7 separate regions of the Homo sapiens genome follow, and regions 2, 3, 4, 5, 6 and 7 are each linked to region 1. Evidence: promoter capture Hi-C in 16 types of primary human blood cells and fetal thymus (Javierre and others, 2016). All regions are on one chromosome and are shown on one strand. Each heading gives the region's core, a stretch centred on a gene start or on the middle of the fragment in contact. The rest is flanking DNA. Distances are from core to core; before and after follow the strand shown.

Region 1 (2,915 bases), core at 135-2,634:
TATAATACTTTTATATATTTGTCATATTTCTAAACTTGATACATGTCACCATATATCAGTTTATGCGTTTGTATGGTATGTTTCTATGTCTGGTACATAAGCGATTACACTTTAAACACGTCATCAACTGTAATGTACAGTGCCTAGCATTCTGCGTGAGCCTTCCTAATGCTGGGCTTGCACTACCTGTATTGTAACGTTTAGATTTTTTGTTTGGTTTTGTTTTGTTTGAGATGGGATCTCACTCTGTGGCCCAGGCTGGAGTGCAGTGGCACCATCTCAGCTGTGCAGTGGAACCATCTCAGCTCACTGCAACCTCTGCCTCCCAGGTTCAAGCGAGTCCCCTGTCTCTGCTCCCTAGTAGCTGGGATTACAGGCATGCGCCCATGCCCAGTTGATTTTTGTATTTTTAGTAGAGACGGGGTTTCGCTGTGTTGCCCAGGCTGGTCTCGAACTCCTGAGCTCAAGCGATCCTCCCACCTCGGCCTCCCAAAGTGCTGGGATTACAGGTGTGAGCCACCGCACCTGGCCCACGTTTAGAATCTTTATAGGCAGTGACGAACGCCCCTACGAAGTGTGCGCCCAATATGTACTAAGTGCTTTTCACCCACATCATTTAATCCTTAGACCAGTTTGGTCATTCATGTCCCCATTTCACCAAGGGAGAAGCCGAGGTCAGAGGGGCCAGGTAGACCGCCTGGACCACACGCGGATGGCCGGGACGCGGATTCGGGACGGGAAGCGGATTCGGGCCCGGACGCGGATTCGAGCCCGGCGTTCACACCCTCACCACGCCACAGCCTCCGTGTTCCTCTTCGCCCTGCTGCAGCCCCTTCCTTCCTGTGGTCACAGGGGACAGTCAGGTCGCCAGAAGCGGCGGGGCCGGGGCTGTCCAGCGCAGCAGGGCCGCCCGCCCTCCCCTGCGGCGCCCGCCCCACCTGTCCCGCCCGCAGCCAGGTTGTTCCGGGAGCGCGACGAGGACACCGGGAACGAGGGTGTGCACGGTCCGTCCCGGCCTGGCCGTGGACGTCGCGCTCCGGGGCCGGGGGGCAGAGAGTGAAGACGGAGACAGCAAGAGCGACAGAGAAGTGCTGGGGAGAGAAACACGGAGAGACCCCCCGAGGCGGGGAGACACCGGGGACACCGAGACAGAAAGGCAGAGCCCGCCGTGCGCGGAGGACAGGCGTACGCAGGGCCAGGGCCGGGGCGCGCCGCTCGCGGACCCCGTGTGCCACTCACGCTGAACTCGCCGGCGAGGACTGCCCCCTCCCGGCCGCCCCGCGCTTCCAGCCGCTCCAGGAAGCTCCGCGCCGAGTCCAGGCTGCGGCTCATGGCGCCGCGGGCCAGCAAGGTCCAGCCCGGCCGCCGCGCGCGCGGCGAGTGTGGACGCCGCGGGAGGCGGAGGCCGGTGACTGAGTCCCCGCCCTTGCCTCGGCAGCCAATGGAAGCGCGCAGCGGCGGGCAGGGCGCCCCAGCCACCGTGTTCTGAGCCCGCGTAGCCCCACCCCGGGCGCTCGGGCCGCTGTGGCCGGAGCCCTAGGTCCTCGCGGGCTGCCCTGAGCAGAGTCCAGCGCCGGCGCTTCCCCTTTTTTTCGGCTGCCGCGCCCACTGGTGGGGGGGTGGCACGGTCCCAGGTTCGCTCCCTGCCGCTTGGGACCCGCCCTCAGATCGGGATCCGCGCCCAGGGGCCGACCTCCGGGTGCCGGCTCTGGGTGGACGGCCGAGCGGTCTCGCCGGGCCCTCCCGCCCGTCCCCTGGGAGCCAGGCCGCGCGGAGTCCGAGCTGGGGCGGGCAGCAGCCTTGGGTGGAGACGGTCGCCGAGATCAGGCTGCCCCTCGTGCCAGAGGACCCCGGGTCGGGGGCGTCCCGCGCTGTGCGCTCCAGCCGGGCCCAAGGGAGGCCGGGGAGGGGCAGCCACGCCGTGGGAAAGGCCAAGTGGCAGCGGGATCTTCTCTGTGTATTTCCCGAGGAATTTGTGGTTCCTTTTTCCCGGATGCGCTGGGGCACCAGGGTCAGTCCTGTGTGAGCATCTCGACCTGCACAAGCCTGCTGGGAAACAGAACTGAGGCACTGGAAGTGGGTTCTGGGGAACGAAGAGCTTCTCTTTTTTGCCTGCCCTGACACTCCCATCTTCAGAAAGTGTGCAGAGGTCAGAGGAGAGCCGCCGTTCCAGCTTCCGGGATCACCGAGGGGAGGCTGGAGAGAATGGACTGGCACCTGGGTCTCTTCAAGGACAGGCCTAGGTTAGCCCCCTTCTCGCCGAGGTCGGAAGAATTAAGAGGGGTGTCACTGGAAGGGGCGTCAGTGGACACCAGTTTGAGGTCGTTGAGGGGTTGAAAGGTAGCATTGGGGCCTGGATGTGTGCCTGAGTCTCTGAAGGGTCAACAGGGGCATGATGTCAGGTGGTCAATTTAATTCACTAGGGGCTATCAGAGTATTTAAGGGCACACTTTCTTAAAGGTCCCGGTAGGAAGTGGTTTTGGCTTTGCTATCGCTGCCCCAGCTGCTTAACTCAGCTGTGGCAGCATGAAAGCAGACAATATAGTGTGGCTGTGTCCCAAAGAAACCATTTATGGACAAAGAAATCAGAATTTCATGTAATGTTCATGTGTCATGAATTATTCTAGTGTGTGTGTGTGGCCTACAGGCTGTCGTTTGCTGACCTTGGCTGAAGTGATGGAGCGATCAAAGTGGCTCTGTGGGGATCAGCAGCTAGGGCTGTTTGATTTATCGTGGGGTCCGCAGGGGTCACTGTGAGATTCATGTTCATCATTTATCAGTTTCATCTTTGAGCATTCTCAGGGAGGTAATTGTTTAGGATGGTGGTGATAGGGAATTCATTGGAAGCCAGTCGGGGTCCCTTGGATGTTCATGGGGGGGGGGGTGTCAGTAGATATTAATGACAGTCATTGGGA
Region 2 (2,889 bases), core at 233-2,732, 2.3 Mb after region 1:
GTTATGTCTCCCCCCATCTCTCTCAGCCCCTATGTCCTACCCAGGACAAAGCACTATTAGTTGGCCTAGCAGAGAGGAGCTGAGCCGCTGACGGGAGTGTGCTGACGGTCCTAGTAGGCCCTGACTGCAGCCAGCCACACCTTTGCAGGGACTCTGGTTGCCGTAAACACACAGCTGGGCTGAAGTGGGCAATGCCGGGCGCAAGAGCCCTCCAGAGTGGTCCCTCAGCCAACCTGTCCCAGCCGCCCAGCTTGCAGCCGAACTTGCCTTTCTTCCTCTTTCCTTGCCAGCTTCACAGTCATGCCGGGATGGGGTAAAAGGACAAGCTTTTATCTACTTTAAACAGTCATGCCACACTGCCAACACAGTTTTCAAAGCATTATAGCCTTCAAAGAGATCCTTTCTTCCTTTTCTAATTTTAAGTTCGAAGGCTTCGCTTTTTGGTGCTCTTTATATGGCTTGGAAAGTGGGGGCCTAGGCTCTTTATAGGTTCTCGCCCCCTGAGTACTGTGTGGTACGGTTGACAGCAGAAGTTTTGCCTTCTGCTTTGTCTGTTGTTTCTTTTCGTCCCTTCTTACGTACACTTTTGAGTCTCCCTAAGAAGTTTACTCATGGGACGGTTTTTCCAATTTTCTATCTTTTGTAATTTCTTTGAAATATCTGTCCAACTGTTAGTAAGAAAATGAAGTTTTAACATTCCCTGCCCAAGAGGATCCTCGAGATCTAGACCTGCATACTTTCTCATTTGTTCTTTTAATCTGTCTAAAAATTCTATAGGCCCTTTATCTTTCCCTTGCTGAATATGAAATGCCTGGGTAAGATTCTAGGTTCAGGGTACTGATTTTTAATTCCTTTTATTATCATTTCCCTAAGGTCTTGCATATTTTCTTGGTGGGCTGCATTGTTATTGTCCAACCAGGGGTCTTGGGAGGGGAATTTTTGATCTGCTGCAGGAACGTTTTGGCCAGGAGGGTGTTCACGTTCCCAGACTACCATAGCAGCTCTACGAATGATGCTTCTTTCTTCTCCTGAGAAGAAGTTGCCTAGGATGGACATTAGCTCAGCCTAAGTATGTAACTGTGGTCCTAGAAAGTGGTCAATTTGGTTTGCTACCCCGTAAGGGTTGTCTAATAGTGGCTTAAGCTCTCTTTTTAGGTTTTGTACTTCTGAGCTGGTTAAAGGAGCATTTACAAAGCCAATGCCTCCTCCTCCTAGGGGCACCTCCCTCAAGGGGAAGAGAGCTGGAGCTGATTCCCCTAAGGCAGAGGGGAAGGGAAAGTTTGGGGAAGTTTTGAATATCTTTTTTACATTTCTCTATTTCACGTTGAAGTCCCTTTAGGGAAGGGTACTTAGGCTGGTAGTGATTGGGCTCTTGGGATGATTCCCAAGAGGCAGGGTTATAAGGAGGGGGAACAACGGGGGTAGGAGAAGGGTCTGGGACAGCAGCTGCTTGAGGGGGAGGAAAGTTAGGAGTGTTTGGTGGGGGAAGGTGATTTAGCAGGTCCGAGGTGTAGATTGCTTGGGGTTAAGAGTTTCAGTTTCCTTAGGGGAAACATTCTCTGGCTTACGCTTATCTTTTAGAGTTTTGGGGGGTAGAGAAGAACAGGTCCTTGTCACCAAAACAAGGCATAATCTATCTCTTCTTGGGAAACAAGACTCTTGATATTAACATGTTCTATTAGAAGCTGACAAATCCAGTACTCATTTGACCCAAATTTTGTCCACAAAACTGAGGGTTTGAGGATTGGTTCCTGGGTCCAAATAAAACTATTTTATCATTCGTTGCTTTATCTTATGCTTAGTCCTTTATTATCTTTCAAATACTTTAACATGAGACCTAAGGGACTATCAAGGGGAATATCATTGCTGTTAGGTTTATCCTTTTTACTTCCTGTCTTACTTGGGGTATTTCCAATCTTGATGGTTTTGGGGTGAACCTTAACTTCCCCTACTGGAAATTTTTTTGCCTTCCCTAATACTAGAGGTTTGTGTGAGGCTCAGTGCCCCCTACTGGAGATTTCTCACCTTTCCTTTCTTCTAGAGGCTCAATGCCTCGTATTAGGGATTTCTTGCCTTCCTTTTCTCTAGAGGCTCAACCCTCCCTGGTGGGGGCTTCTTGCACTCTTTTCCTTTCATTTCATCCTCTCTGGCCACTTCCCCAAAGGGAACATCGGGTCCCTCTTAACGTTGGCGAATCAGTATAAACCCCTGATGGGACCCTCGAAAGGCCGCCATATGAGGTGACCATGGAACCACAGATTGAACTCAACTCACTCTGCACGCTAGTAGTGCTTATTCACACACTTACAGCTTTCAACCTCCAAGATCTCCCAACAATCAAGGAAATACGTTGTCAACCCAGTAATGTTTCTTACCTTGGTCTGTGCACAGAGTTACCTGGTTGCCATGGTATATGATGATCTTTTTCTTTTTTTTTCCCAAGTTGTTGGTCTGTTTTTTCCTGCATTGCTGAGAGTCCAGGTTTATTCGTCACACCAGGTGGGTCTTGATTCCTTACCCCTGAGTCCACTGCAATGAGGCAGCAGGGCACACCTCCTCACAGGAGAGGACTGGACCCTTCCCCAGAGGAGAATGGGAATCCTGGACGAACCCCCAAATTTGTTAGAAACAAGCTTCAGTGCTGCAAAAGAAATAGCACTCAAACAGAAATTTTCTCAGCAAGGCAAATTTACTTCCGCAGAAGTGTGCAGCTTGCGCCAGTCACGATTGCAAGAGCACACTGAGCAGGGTGGGGCAGGGGTTTTTATCCCTAATGCAATTGGTTCCTACTGCTGTGTTCTGTCTTCATTGGCTGGGGTGGGACCGCACAGTCTAAACTGACCTGATTGGCTAATCTTTGAAATTGAACACAGCTATCTAGGTGGGAAG
Region 3 (2,700 bases), core at 161-2,660, 2.2 Mb after region 1:
TCAAGCCCAACTATTAATGGCAGCATATCTTTTCAGAACACCTATGTGTGTATCCCTCAGTGCATCTGGATCTACTTCTACTAAACACACACACTACCATTCCTGTGTGCTACTGCCCCCATGTCCAGACCTCTGTCGTGGTAAGGACCCCATCTCCCCGATACAGTACACAACACAATTGTTGGAGCAACTCTGCTCCAAGAACATGAACAGGTATGCAATAAAACTTGTCTATGATGAGGATCTCGCTATTTATTTTTTTCTCTATAAGAATCTATCCCGTTCAACAAAGCCTGGATACTGTAGTCTTAGATCTCTTTTCTTGAGAGCTGGCAGATCTCTAGAGATACAATTCTCCGTTCCCTCGAGCATTAAGAAAGCAGGACTCCCAACTCCCACTGAACAATCCTAGCCGCACAGCGAAGCCCATGAAGACAACTACAGCCACAAACAAAAATATAAAATGAAGTCATAGATACTTGCCTGATGTTTGATGGCATCATACAGTAACTGCCGTCCAGAAGGGCTATCAAAATCCCCAACAATCCAAAAAGTTACTGGCCTAATAAAAGAATCATCTGTAGAAAAACAAAAACAGCTAATTGAGTCAGAGGAGAGAAGCACATTCTGTGTTTCAACATTCTGAAAATGAAATTGACCAAATAATTTGTAAGAACCATGCAAAAAGAAGAAAATGACAAGCTTAATAAAGATAGAAGAAAAAGTCGTAAACCTTTACTATAGGAAAGCAGGGGAATCTTCCACAGAGTTTAGTTACAGACTAGGAACATGCACTGATTAATTCTACTGATTAATGCACTGGTCTGGGCATCTGTTAGCATGTAAAATGAAAAACAGCCTTTGAACATGTGGGTAACATATTGTCATTTTTAATCATACTAATTTGTAATTTTCTGAAACTAATTCTTTACAAATGTTTATACAAAATTTATCTACATTGGCCGGGTGCAGTGGCTCACGCCTGTAATCCTAGCACTTTGGGAGGTTCAGGAGGGTGGATCACTTGAGGTCAGGAGTTCAAAACCAGCCTGGCCAAAATGGTAAAACCCCATCCCTACTAAAAATACAAAAAAGTTAGCTGGACGTGGTGGCGGGTGCCTGTAATCCCAGCTACTTGGAAGGCTGAGGCAGGAGAATCACTTGAAATCACTTGAACCCAGAAGGCGGAGCTTGCAGTGAGCCGAGATCATGGTACTGCACTCCAGCCTGGGTGACAGAATGAGACTCTGTCTCAAAAAAAAAAAAAAAAAAAATTATCTACATTGATATAGCTTCCTGTTACCCACAGATTCCGGAAACAGTACAATTAAGTGTTGATAAATTCTAAATTACAATGGTCACTGAAACCAAAGAAGAAAATTAAGAAATAGAACATTCTGAAGTTTTAAGTTACCATAGATTTCCTTGGAGGACATTCCTGAACAAAGGTAAAGAGAAAAGAGTAGAAAAAAAGTATCATTTCTGGAATGAATGCCTACTGTAAAAATTGAAAGTCTAAACAATGGCTAACACGGTCTATGGTTCTTCCTGCTGCTTAGTCCTGTCGGTGTCATGGCGCTGTCCCAGTACCCTAAGAAACAGTTTCTTTAAAGAACCAAATGGAGTAATTGCTTGTACTTTACATACAGCTGAGAAACCAGAACTTCTCTTGGGGAGAGACCACAGCGGGGATTTAAAAAGGCGGTAAAAATAGCTGACTTAAAATAACAGCCAGTGCTTTTCTGAAGCACTGACCCGAGGGCGACAGAATCTGTCCGCCACTACAGGGCGTCATTTTACACAATCTTAGCCTAAATAAATACCTCTGCATAAAATCAGCTTCAAAGATTATACAAGGCTTTCTAAAACCAACTTTATCTTATAAACCCCAAAATAATATTAACCCTGTACAGTCATTTTTAATTCATTAACCCATTTTTACATCACAAATGTTTTTCCATTTGAACTATGAAATATTTTTCCTTTTGACTTTAGTCAAAAGGTAAAACAGGTAATACAAAATTTATGAAGACATCTGAATTTTTAAACAAATATATACTTTCAACAAATATACAAAGAATTAAACTTTAAATAGATATGTTCTAGACTCAAAGCTTTATAAGAAATAAGAAAAATTATGAAGTCTCTTTCCCTTTTCTCTCTTAATTTGCACATTAAGATGAATATGCAAATACTTTCAAAAAAATGTTGAATGCAAGATAATAAGCCTCAAATGGATTACCTTTCTTTGTCAGATAGTTCATACTATTGGCTACAGCAGCAGTCTTGCCTTGGGAATCCAAGATAGTAAATCTAGCATAATCATCCACAAAGAAGTTATCTGGGAGAAAAAATGAAATACGTATATATTAGTTCCAGTTCAATCTATTCTTAATATTCAACTGATAACCTGACTTGATCATAATATAAGATTTATAGAAATGCGTGAGTGAAGTATATTAAGTTCCATGTTTACTGAACAACTTCACAACATGGCCCCTATCCCTACTGAAGTCACACATCAAAGACACAAGGTTGATGGAAACATACATATCTCACACAGCTATCATATAAGTATGTGTCAGTTTAATGGCTGAATTCATCCTATTCCCATTCCTGTCACTTGTCAACTGGAGGACAATCTCAAAGAGATCCCCTTAACTCATTTCTCCCTTCCCTAGTCCAACCAGTGGAGTAAGC
Region 4 (2,914 bases), core at 114-2,613, 2.3 Mb after region 1:
GTAGGCAGTGCTGCTCTGTGGTTTCTCTGAGGAGAGCAGATGTGCATCTCTTGGGATAGGTTACCTCAAGCAGCTCTCTAGTTCCAAACTTTTTTTTTTTTTTTTTTGAGACAGAATCTCACGGTGTCACCCAAGCTGGAGTGTAGTGGTGCAGTCTTGGCTCACAGCAACGTCCACGTCCCGTGTTCGAGCCATTCTCTTGCCTCAGCCTCCCGAGTAGCTAGGATTACAAGCGGGCACCACCACCCCCAGCTAATTTTTTTATTTTAATAGAGACGGGGTTTCACCATGTTGGCCAGGCTGGTCTCCAACTCCTGACCTCAAATGATCTGCCCGCCTCGGCCTCCCAAAGTGCTGGGATTACAGGCATGAGCCACCGCACCCAGCCTTAGTTGCGAACATTTATTCTGAAGTCTTCTGTTTTAAGGTTTTTTTGTGAAATTTTGCAATCCTACTCTGCTGTGTACCTGATTAATTAAATATTTTACATTTTTTACCTGGGGAAAAAAACTAAATCTAAAAACTTTCCCTTCACATTTTCAAGAAAAATTTATATCCCAAAGAGGTGTACTGTGTTTTTTCCTTTTGTCATACTGCTGAGTACTCTCAGAAGTACCAGAACCCTTAGCTGAGAAGCCCTGAACTCTGTGGTTTGGGAGAATGTAAGGGACATTTCAGGGTTGAGCTGAAGAACTGGTAGGGAGCACCTGTTGGATACCAACTGACATTTACTTAGAAACAAAAAAGCTTAAAGAATGGATGGATGCAGTGGTATGTAAAGGAAATAGTGAGAATGGGAAAAAAAATAAGCATTTGGCCAGAACAGGGAAAACAAGTGTGAAAGGTAATATCGCAGATGAGAGTTTCTAAACGTAGATATCGAAGTATATTATCTGTAATTATGTGGGCCTGCAGCAGTTGTGGGGTCCTCATACTTCTCACATGCCTGTTAGCACAGTTCATTGTACGGTATGGCATGTAAAAGTAGCTCAAGCTGAATGTCCTTAGCCCTTTCTCTTGGGATACTCACTATCTAAAAAACAACCTGACCCACATTTGGAGGCAGGTGACTTCCTAGAGGCAATGGCTAAGAGCAAACATGTAAAAATAACGTTCTATCCTCTTTCTTTCAGGGCCATCCCAGTAACCTGCATCACATCATGACTACAAATGTGCAAATGTCTATCATCCGCAGCAATGCTCCTGGGCCCCCTCTTCACATTGGAGCTTCTCATTTACCTCGAGGTAACGACTTGCAAGTTTTGTTCAAACTCTCAAAATGTAGTAGTAGATATACATTTGGTAAAATACGTAACACAGAATGTATCTAGAATCAGCTTGTTAAAGTTGCAGAACAACAGTCTGCAGAACCGTGAACCAAATAAACCTCTTTTATTTAAAAAGAAAAAAAGGCCAGGTGCTGCGGTTCATGTCTATAAACCCAACACTTTGGGAGGCTGAGGTGGTAGGTTCACTTGAGTCCAGGAATTTGAGACCAGCCTGGGCAACATGGCGAAACCCTGTCTCTACAAAAATACAAAAAATTAGCCAGGTGTGGTGGCATGCGTCTGTAGTCCCATCTACTCAGGAGGCTGAGATGGGAGGATGGCACTCAGGAGGCTGAGATGGGAGGATGGCACTCAGGAGGCTGAGATAGGAGGATGGCACTCAGGAGGCTGAGATGGGAGGATGGCACTCAGGAGGCTGAGATGGGAGGATGGCTTGAGCTCGGGAGGCAGAGGTTGAAATGAGTTGAGATTGCGCCGCTGCACTCCAGCCTGGGTGACAGAGCGAGAACCTGTCTCAAGAAAAAGAAAAAAAATCGCAAGACAGTAGAAATAAACTTAGAGCAATCCATGTTTTTAGCATGGTTTAATATGTGCTTATTATAGTTGTATTACAAGTGTGTATATTTATGCAATTAAAGTGTTTAATATGGTCTAAAATTGTCCTATATATTGAGGAACTGCCCAAGCTTTGATAATCTCAACATGGTCTTTATTATTAGACTGCTTATCTGCAACATGGTCTTTATTTTTAATACATAAGTCACAAATATTAATACTGAATATTTTTAAAGTTCAGTGATGATCTTTACTCAGTTTTTTAACTTATGTAACAATAAAATGATGATGATAATTATTTTTTGAGATGGGGCCTCACTGGGTTACCCAGGCTGGTTTCAGATTTCTGGGGCACAAGCGATCTTCCCACTTTAGCCTCCTGAGTGGCTGGGACTACAGGTGTGAGCCACCACATGGCTAAGATTAATTTATTTTTACCCTTAAGTTCTAATAGGTTGTGAGGTAATAAATGAATTTTGACTAGAAATTTTTACCTTTTATTGGAGACTTTACAACAATTGGAGATTGTTGGCAAAATCAAGTTAGCAAACGCAAGACCAGGTTTGCTTGGTTATAGCATAACTCAGCAGTTCTCCAAATGTGGTTCACAGGCCCTTATGGGGGTCTGCAGGGTGAAAAGTGCAGGGTTAGGTTTAAGGTTAAGGTTCATAATGTGTCCCTTTGGCAATGTCGACGTCTGCTCTAATGGAACAAAGACTGGAAGGCAAAGTGTCCGAGCCTCGTCAGAGCTGAGGCAGTGGCATCACACTGCTGTTCCCTGTGTGCTTTACCACTGTGCACACTTGCAGTTAACAGAAACAAAAAACAGCAGCTAGTTTCACTTAAGGTTGTCTGTGAAGAGGCAATATAAATTATTATTAAATCTCTTGAATACACATTTTCTTTGTTTTCTCTGTGATGAAATGGGAAGTATACATACCATACTTCAGCTCGATATTGACATGCTATCTGAGTTTTGGGAAACATACTGATTATTTTCCCAGGGAATATAACTAGAATAAATATAATAAACACTTTTTTTTTTTCAGGTGCAGCTGCTGCTGCTGTGA
Region 5 (2,842 bases), core at 254-2,753, 2.2 Mb after region 1:
TGATTCTCCTGCCTCAGCCTCCCGAGTAGCTGGGACTACAGGTGTGTGCCACCATGCCCAGCTAATTTTTGTATTTTTAGTAGAGACGGGGTTTCACCGTGTTGGCCAGGATGGTCTCTATCTCTTGACCTCATAATCCGCCCGCCTCGGCTTCCCAAAGTGCTGGGATTACAGGTGTAAGCCACTGTGCCTGACCGGAAACTGTTTCTTAACATACATCATGCACGTAATCTTCGCTCTCCCAAGAGGCATTCACCCAAGCAGACAGGCAAGCATCTATGTGTTCAATTCGAAATGCAACAATGACAGATGTACAACTTTACCACTCTTAAAGAAACTAACATGCCATCCATTATTCTCCATGTGGGAAACATTCAGTAAACTTCTAAAACCAAACACAGGACTCTGGCATATCCCCACACCCCCAGCAGCAGGCTGTGACAGGCTTTGATCTCAATCAAATGCCACTGTACACAGAACATAAAAACAGGCTCAGGATGCTGCATGTCACTCTGACATATCACATTATTTCATATTACTCTGTCACTTACTCACAAACAAAAGTCTCCACTATGGCATGATTGAGAGAGAAAATAATTCACTTTATATAAATAACAGCTAAGAACAACATACTGTGAACAGTTTCCAGAGTTTGAACATTCAGCACAATCAATTCTTACTTCTTGGGAAAAAAATATCTTACCTATCTTTTCTGTTACAGTATGCCTTCTTGGAGAAAATATTTTAGTGGTAACATCATTTTCTGGGGCATTTGGTTAATTTTGAAAGATGATTATGCCACATGAACCAAAAAAAAAAAAAAAAACTGGCAGGAGGAGGAGGGTCCTAGGCCATTCTGGAAGCAAGCTGGGTTTTGCATTATTCAGAGTCAACTATTAAGCTGACTTATATTAGAATGGCGACAGATAAGAGGCAATGAGTGACACCAGGACATGCACAGCACACAGAGAATATGGTCTACTCTTGTCTTCCCTGCACAGATTAAACATAAGAGGCTTGGTAGAAAGACATGGGGAAAGGTGCTATGGGGGCCAGCATTTGGAAAGCATATATCCCAGTGACTTGAGTATTTGCTATGCAACCTCCTGGACGAGAAACTGGGAAAAGGCACACTTCCGCCCACAGTTGTGGACAGCAGCAGTCACCCGTCTGAATGCTTTCATTCAATGTGAAGATGCAGCTTGAACAAAAGTTTCTTTTTGTTTGTTTGTTTTCTGAGATGGAGTCTCGCTCTGTCACCCAGGCTGGAGTGCAGTGGCACGATCTCAGCTCACTGCAACCTCTGCCTCCTGGGTTCAGGCGATTCTCCTGTCTCTGCCTCCCGAGTAGCTGGGAATAGAGGGTGAGCCACAACACCCGGCTAATTTTTGTATTTTTAGTAGAGACGGGGTTTCACCATATTGGCCAGGCTGGTCTTGAACTCCTGACCTCATGATCCGTCCGCCTCAGCCTCCCAAAGTGCTGGGATTACAGGTGTGAGCCACCACGCCTGGCCGAACAAAAGTTTTTTAATCTTACTGATCCCATCTTTCCAGCTGCTCTGAACAGAGGGGCAGGGCGGGGAAAGTCATGTCACAGACTCTGCCCACAGCAGCCATTCTGAGGTGCCTTTTCAGTCTCTTATCCTCTTTTGAGCTTTCCTCTTCTTAATTTTTTGTTTTGTTTTGTTTTCATTGTACTCATTAATCCCCTCCTCAATTTTTAACAGAATTATAAAAGCAAAGTCAAAAGGTCCTTCAGGATGACTGGGAGGCTTCCTAGGCTAACTTTTGCATTTGAAAATGGAAAAAATAAATTACTTGATATTTGTGATAAGACTAAGATTTCTTAAAAGTCTGCACATCAATATATTACCTGGCTTAGGAGGGTGAGGGCACAGTATCCATCTGCACCCTCTCCTCGTATTTTTTAAAAACAGGCAAAATATGTAAGAAAAGGCTGGTGCACGTTGGAAGACAGAGCGTGCCTGTCTATGCCAGTGCTGCTGTGCCCTGCAGCCTGGCAGATGGAGTCGGATGCTGGGGCCTCATGCCCACTTAGGCCAATAACATACTCAAGACTCTACAGCCCGTTCACCAGCAAAGTATGCCCTGAGGGGCAACACTGGCTGTGGAAGTGAAGACACACAAAGCAGGGACTAAAGGCAAATGGGGCTTCACGATGCAGCGACATGAAGACAGAACTGGTGTGGGCGCCAAAGGCAACCTGCAGGGCTCACATAAAAGGAAAATAGGACAGAAAGCCACGAGTTCCACAAGCAGAATCATTTCTGGTCTTACATCTGAGGGCATTTGTAGAGAAAAGTCCAAGGCAATGTCCCCTGGGTCTGAGAGAAAAATCCTACGCAAAAGAGGGCAGACAATGCGGTGCTCGTCTTGAGGGAGCCTGACCCTGACCCTGACCCTGACGGGCTGGATGCGAGAGGGGCTGAGTATGGCTGTATTCAGTAAGGAAACTGGTAGCAGACTTTTCTAGAAGGTGGAAAGAAAAAGCAAAGACTTTCACAGATACAAAAATTGTTTTCAAAACAATTACCTAGAAAGTTCACTGCGGTTGGGTGGGGAATAAGTGTAATATTTTCATTTCAAATGAGCCATGGTGCTACTAATGGATTATAAAAGAGGATGGCCAGTTCTGGTCTTCCTTCCCTTCCCTTAACCCCCGAACCTTCCTACTCCTGACATTTTCCCTACCCTCACTGCAACCCACCCCCATCCTGGCCCAAAATTAATTTGCCCAGCCACTGCACCAAACCAGCCTTGACACACAATTGTTGGTTGGATTTCAATTAAACAATGCACCTAATGCGTTGGAAGAGAAG
Region 6 (2,735 bases), core at 20-2,519, 2.3 Mb after region 1:
GTTCAAGCGATTCTCCTGCCTCAGCCTCCCCAGTAGCTGGGATTACAGGCACGCACCACCACACCCTGCTAATTTTGTGTATCTTTAGTAGAGACAGGGTTTCACAATGTTGGCCAGGCTGGTCTCAAACTCCTGACCTCGTGATCTGCCCGCCTCAGCCTCCCAAAGTGTTGGGATTACAGGCATGAGCCACCATGCCTGGCCTGCTACAAGGTAATTTTAACCTCATACTTGGAGACACAAAATAACAATCCTAATAATACTTGGAGACACAAAATAACATAAGTTAGCGAAACAGAAATGCTTCTGACATATAATAGCACTTAATATCTAGCTAGTCCAACAGATATTTGCTGAGTGACTGATATGTAACTGAAGGCACTTAGGTTATTACATTCTTTCCTACAAAGGCTCTGCTTCATTTCCCAAGCAATCTACACCATACAGGGGTATAAAAATCAGTTGGTGGCACACCAGGTTGCACACAACCATATTTTATAAAGGATGAAAGCAAATAAAGCTGAGATAGATGAAAATATAAATGATAGGTATTAAGGGTTGAACTGTGTCCCCCAAAAAAGATATGGAAATCCTATCCCCCGGTACCTCGTAATGTCAACTTATTTGTAAATACAGTCTTTACAGAGGTCATCAGTTAAAACAAGGTTATTAGGTGGGCACTAACCCAATGACTGATGTTATAAAGAGGAGAAATCTGGACAGAGAAAGACAGCACAGAGGGAAAACTATGTAGAGACACAGGAGACCACCAGGTGAAGACAGAGGCACACACTAAAATTATACTGTAAGCTAAGGAATGCCTGAAACTACCAGAAGCTGAAGAGTCAAAGAAAGATTCTTCCTCCAAAGATTTCAGCGGGAACGTGGTCCTGTGAAACCCTGAGTAAGGATTTCTAGCACTGTGAGACAGTAAATATCTATTGTTCTAAGCCACCCAGTTTGTGATACTTTGTTGTGGTAGCCCTAGGAAACTAACATAATGGGTCCCAAATGTAAACTCAGACAGGTTCTGAAATAAAGAAATGTAAAATTTTAGTGGCTTCCCAAGCCAACTGTCCCATCTACAAAATGAGGGATCTAGGGTCACTGGCAAAGTGGATGGCCACAGAATGCAGGCCTCTTGACACCCTCCGCAGCCGCTCCAAGCCTGTCAAGATCCTCTCAGACAGCATCCAGACAGTTTCAGAAAAAGGTCTCCAGCTGCAGATTTCTCTGATTTTCATCTCCAAAGTCCACCTAACAGAACCCTAATCGGACCTCCCCTGAGCTCTACCCATTTGAATGAGAACTAAAAGGGGGTGTGAATATGTGGGAAGCACTAAGCTATCCTTGGGCTTCAGAATGTTAGCTCTGGTAAGGCTCACTTCGGTCTCATCCCAGTTCTTTAATATTGGTTACAAAATCTATCACTGAGGGAGGCTGTCCACATTGGGGACTAGTCAATAGCTGCTTTTTATAAAAAGCATCATTTGTGTTAACATCCTGCTTCATAGAACATACAGTATCTCTGAAGAACGATGGTCAAAAGCAAAATAAATTATAACAAATAGAAAAGTGGCTTTCAGAAGCATTTTAAGTTCAGGCACTGCCAGCTTCTTTGGAAACCAAAAAAAATTAATAAATCAGCCAGGCATGGTGGCATGCACCTATGGTCCCAGCTACTTGGGAGGCTAAGGTGGGAAGATAGCTTGGGCCTAGGAGGTCCATGCTGCATCTGGGCAACAGAGCGGGACAGGAGGAGTTACGGGACAGGAGGAGAGCAGGACAGGAGGAGAGTGGGGGAGGAGGAGGAGGAAGAGGAGGAGGAGGAAGAGGAAAGAAAGAAGAAAGAAGGAGGAAGAGAAGGAGGAGGGGAAGGGGAAGGTAAAGGGGAAGGGGAAGGAGAAGGGGAAGGGGAAGGGGAAGAGGAAGAAGAAGAGGAAGGAGAAGAAGAAGAACATCCCACTTATAAATAAAAACACTCAGAAGTGTTTTTCAAAATCAACGTTTGTAAAAACTGCTATAGAGGCTGCAGAAATGAAAGAATACACACACAAAAATGAAACCTACTGAAATTAGAGATAACCAAACTAGATTTTACACAATGAAACCTGATAGCAGTGATTCCTGGCTGGTTGAGTGAAGAGGATATAGGCCTTTTCTGGAATCTAGTAAAGTTACTGACATTTCCCACAGAGGAGCAAACAAGGACCCAAATTTTATGTACAACTTAAGAATTCTCTTGGGACTGGCCCAGCGCAGTGGCTCACGCCTGTAATCCCAGCACTTTAGGAGGCTGAGGTGGGTGGATCACCTGAGGTCAGGAGTTCAAGACCAGTCTGTCCAATGTGGTGAAACCCCGTCTCTACTAAAAATACAAAAATTAGCCAGGCATAGTGGCAGGTGCCTGTAATCCCAGCTACTCAGGAGGCTGAGGCAGGAGAATCGCTTGAACCCGGGAGGTGGAGGTTTCAGTAAGTCGAGATCGCACCACTGCACTCCAGCCTGGGCGACAGAGAGAGACTCCGTCTCAAAAAAAAAAAAAAAAAAAAAAAAAAAAAAGCATTCTCTTAGGACTAACCATAGACACCCTTTCCCACAGGCCCACAGACTGCAGCCTCAGAAACCTGCTCTACAGGACACAATAGACACGGTTTGTAAAAAAAGGGAACCTTTTAGCATCAGGGCAGCTGTGATCAATTCCTGAGTTTGCTACGTACTAGCAGTTTAACCAC
Region 7 (2,700 bases), core at 192-2,691, 2.2 Mb after region 1:
ATTTAATTTCCTGGAAAAACCACTGTTTCATCACATACAACTGCAAATTAAATTCATGTTGCCTGGCTAACTGCCAGGGTAGTATTCAATTAGAGCTAATGCTCATTTCTAAAAGTTCTGGGATAATGTAACTGCATCACTTACTCCTACCTGTAAATTCTATAAATATCTTCAGAGCGTCCCTTCCTAAGTCTGAGGATCCAAGCTCCTGGGTTGGCTTTCAGCTGAAAGTAGCCCTAGGACAAGAAGAAAAGTCCAGTTAGCTCTCTTCAAAACACCAAAATGTTATTTCTGAGGAACAGTTACTTCTATTTCTGAAATATCAATCAACTATAATGTGAATAACACAGTAAACAAATCAATGCAACTCTTAAAAAACCAAAACTACACATTAAAAACTCTAGCACAGACCAGGTGCGGTGGCTCACGCCTGTAATCCCAGCACTTCGGGAGACCACGGCAGGTGGATCAACTGAGGTGAGGAGTTCGAGACCAGCCTGGCTAACATGGTGAAACCCCATCTCTACTAAAAAAGGACAAAAATTAGCCGGGCATGGTGGTGGGTGCCCGTAATCCCAGCTACTCAGGAGGCTGGGGCAGGAGAATTGCTTGAACCTGGGAGGCGGAGGTTGCAGTGAGCTGAGATCACACCACTGCACTCCAGCCTGGGCAGGAGTCTCAAAAAAAAAAAAAAAAAAACTAGTACAATAAAGGCCAGTCACACCAATAAATCATCTGCTCTTTAGCTGTGCTTCAGGGAAGAATCAACGTGTGATGCATGAATAAGTGTTGCACTTCCAAAGAAAAGAAAAAGGCTGTCAGCTCATGAGCAATCTATTTTCAGGGGGCCAATTCAGTTATAGCTGAGTATTCCAGCATGTTTTTTCTTTTGACATGTAATTCTAACCTACAAATTTAGCTGAACTAATGATTTCTATATTGACCAAATTCAGCCCATAATGAATTTTAATCTCACTCTATGGTTAAGAATGCTAATTGCTCCATCATAAATTATAGTGCCCAAATTAACGTAACTACAATATCACTATCTGATGAACAGATTATTTACCAGATTGGCCATAACAATGGTGTCCACAATGACCGGGTTGGCTGAAGTTCCTAAGGTAAACTGTAGTCCCCGTGGAGGCTGGCCTGTGGTGATGTCGTAGCAATGACCTTCCAGTAACAGGTATTCCAGCTCATACTCAGCAGCCACTACACTGTCCACCTGCAAGCCAAAATCCAATCACTTGAATGCACTCAGAGACAACATGAATAAATCTGAAATGCATTATGCAAAGTAAAGGAAGCAGACAAAAAGGACTTACATAATATATGATCATATTTTAAGAAATTCAAGAAAAGACAAAAGTATAATGACAGAAAGCAGATCAGTTGTTGCCTGAAACCAGGCGAGAGGAGGCTACTGTCTGCAAAGGGGTATAAAAGAACTTTTTGGGGTAATGGAAATGTTCTGCATCGTGGCTATAGTGGTGGTTAATGACTGTATACAATTATAAAAACTAGGTTGGAAAGAGAAAGGAGAAAAAAACAATAAGGACGTTATTCTAAAAATACGAACGAGGATAAGATACTAAATGTTGAAAAAAATTAAAGACCTAAATGCAAAGACATCCTGTACTCACGTATCAGTAGAAAAACTTGCACACAACATTCATAGCAGCATTATTCATAACAACCAAAAAGTGAAAACAACTCAAATGTCCATTCGTGAAAGGATAAATGAAACGTGATATGTCCATAAATAAAATATTATCTGGCAAGTTAAAAAGAGTGAAGCGTCGATACATACTACAGCATGGATGGATCTTGAAAACAATTTGTTATGTGAAAGAAGCCAGTTACAGAAGACCACATTTGATTCTATTTAGACAAAATGTCAGAATAGGCAAATCCATAGAGATACAAAGTAGACCAGCAGTTGCCAGGGGCTGGGGAAATGAAGAGTGACTGCTAATGAGTATGGGGCTTTCACTGGGGATGCTGAAAACATCCTACAATTACATAGTGGTGATGGCTGCACAACTCCGTGAAGATACTAAAACCTCTCAACTGTACACGTTAATGGGGAGAATTTTATGGTATATGAGTTCCATGTGAATAAAGCTGTTGTTTAAAAAAATATCATACCTGAACACTGATGTCTCAGAGGCCCACCTAGACTATGATTCAATCTGCTGTATTATACATGATTAGGTATTTGGAAGCAATAGATATGGTCTTACCTCTTCTAAATAAATATTATCAAGATCATATGGTGTTCTGACAGATTCTACCATCCAGCTCTCAGGTGTGTTCAAATTCAGAGTGAACAGTGGAGACTGAGGCATATCCAAAAATTTTGCGATTGGACCCTTAGCAAAACTATTGTCTGAAGTGAAAGAAATCTCTGGTTCTAAGACATAACGGTAAAAGCTGAAATTGAAAAGGAAAGTGTTAGATAATTTTCGATGTGACAACAGGACTTGAGTGCACAGCCCTTACACAGGTAACAACTGGTTAAAACAAATTAGATTTGGAGGAGTACCCTTCCAGATTGGGAAAAGTGTTTCCAAAACCATCTTTGACCTTATGATGCCTCCTTGTGGTTGCTGCAGATGCAAGAAAAGGCAAACAAGGACAGCACTGAGGAGGAGTGCTCAGTGGTGGCCTGTGGTGATGTCGTAGCAATGACCTTCT

What was found. Contacts are between HindIII fragments. The CHiCAGO score rates a contact against its expected background, and 5 or more counts as called.
Region 2: a contact is called between a fragment that was not itself captured here and the fragment with the promoter of PTPN18 in region 1, in 1 of 17 cell types (neutrophils). The highest score is 10.4, in neutrophils.
Region 3: a fragment that was not itself captured here is called in contact with the fragment with the promoter of PTPN18 in region 1 in 3 of 17 cell types (M0 macrophages, monocytes and M2 macrophages); the score reaches 7.0 in M0 macrophages.
Region 4: a contact is called between a fragment that was not itself captured here and the fragment with the promoter of PTPN18 in region 1, in 1 of 17 cell types (neutrophils). The highest score is 6.1, in neutrophils.
Region 5: a fragment that was not itself captured here is called in contact with the fragment with the promoter of PTPN18 in region 1 in 1 of 17 cell types (monocytes); the score reaches 5.1 in monocytes.
Region 6: a contact is called between a fragment that was not itself captured here and the fragment with the promoter of PTPN18 in region 1, in 2 of 17 cell types (monocytes and neutrophils). The highest score is 8.8, in monocytes.
Region 7: a fragment that was not itself captured here is called in contact with the fragment with the promoter of PTPN18 in region 1 in 3 of 17 cell types (M0 macrophages, M1 macrophages and neutrophils); the score reaches 7.0 in M0 macrophages.

Annotation. Positions count from the first base shown.
Region 1 is chr2:130,354,525-130,357,439 of GRCh38, reverse strand. It overlaps PTPN18 (protein tyrosine phosphatase non-receptor type 18), which reads right to left and starts at 1,384. Exons shown (of 15, transcript NM_014369.4): 1 at 1,240-1,384. The coding sequence starts at 1,332. RefSeq lists silencers at 945-994, 1,135-1,804. The HindIII fragment of the contact is 15,291 bases long and covers 1-2,915 here.
Region 2 is chr2:128,036,990-128,039,878 of GRCh38, reverse strand. No RefSeq gene overlaps it. Among named protein-coding and RNA genes, the nearest start is that of SAP130, 10 kb to the right of the region's middle. The HindIII fragment of the contact is 2,307 bases long and covers 329-2,635 here.
Region 3 is chr2:128,155,130-128,157,829 of GRCh38, reverse strand. It overlaps UGGT1 (UDP-glucose glycoprotein glucosyltransferase 1), which reads right to left. Exons shown (of 41, transcript NM_020120.4): 20 at 2,243-2,341; 21 at 1,415-1,438; 22 at 484-578. Among named protein-coding and RNA genes, the nearest start is that of UGGT1, 65 kb to the right of the region's middle. The HindIII fragment of the contact is 1,412 bases long and covers 705-2,116 here.
Region 4 is chr2:128,013,134-128,016,047 of GRCh38, reverse strand. SAP130 (Sin3A associated protein 130) reads left to right here. Exons shown (of 21, transcript NM_001330301.2): 5 at 1,134-1,245; 6 at 2,894-2,914. Among named protein-coding and RNA genes, the nearest start is that of SAP130, 13 kb to the left of the region's middle. The HindIII fragment of the contact is 1,228 bases long and covers 750-1,977 here.
Region 5 is chr2:128,190,251-128,193,092 of GRCh38, reverse strand. It overlaps UGGT1 (UDP-glucose glycoprotein glucosyltransferase 1), which reads right to left. Exons shown (of 41, transcript NM_020120.4): 41 at 1-2,842. Among named protein-coding and RNA genes, the nearest start is that of UGGT1, 100 kb to the right of the region's middle. The HindIII fragment of the contact is 4,858 bases long and covers 1-2,842 here.
Region 6 is chr2:128,094,564-128,097,298 of GRCh38, reverse strand. All of the region lies in intron 1 of UGGT1 (UDP-glucose glycoprotein glucosyltransferase 1), which reads right to left. Among named protein-coding and RNA genes, the nearest start is that of UGGT1, 4.7 kb to the right of the region's middle. The HindIII fragment of the contact is 7,457 bases long and covers 1-2,735 here.
Region 7 is chr2:128,172,309-128,175,008 of GRCh38, reverse strand. UGGT1 (UDP-glucose glycoprotein glucosyltransferase 1) reads right to left here. Exons shown (of 41, transcript NM_020120.4): 29 at 2,247-2,436; 30 at 1,070-1,228; 31 at 151-236. Among named protein-coding and RNA genes, the nearest start is that of UGGT1, 82 kb to the right of the region's middle. The HindIII fragment of the contact is 3,393 bases long and covers 1-2,700 here.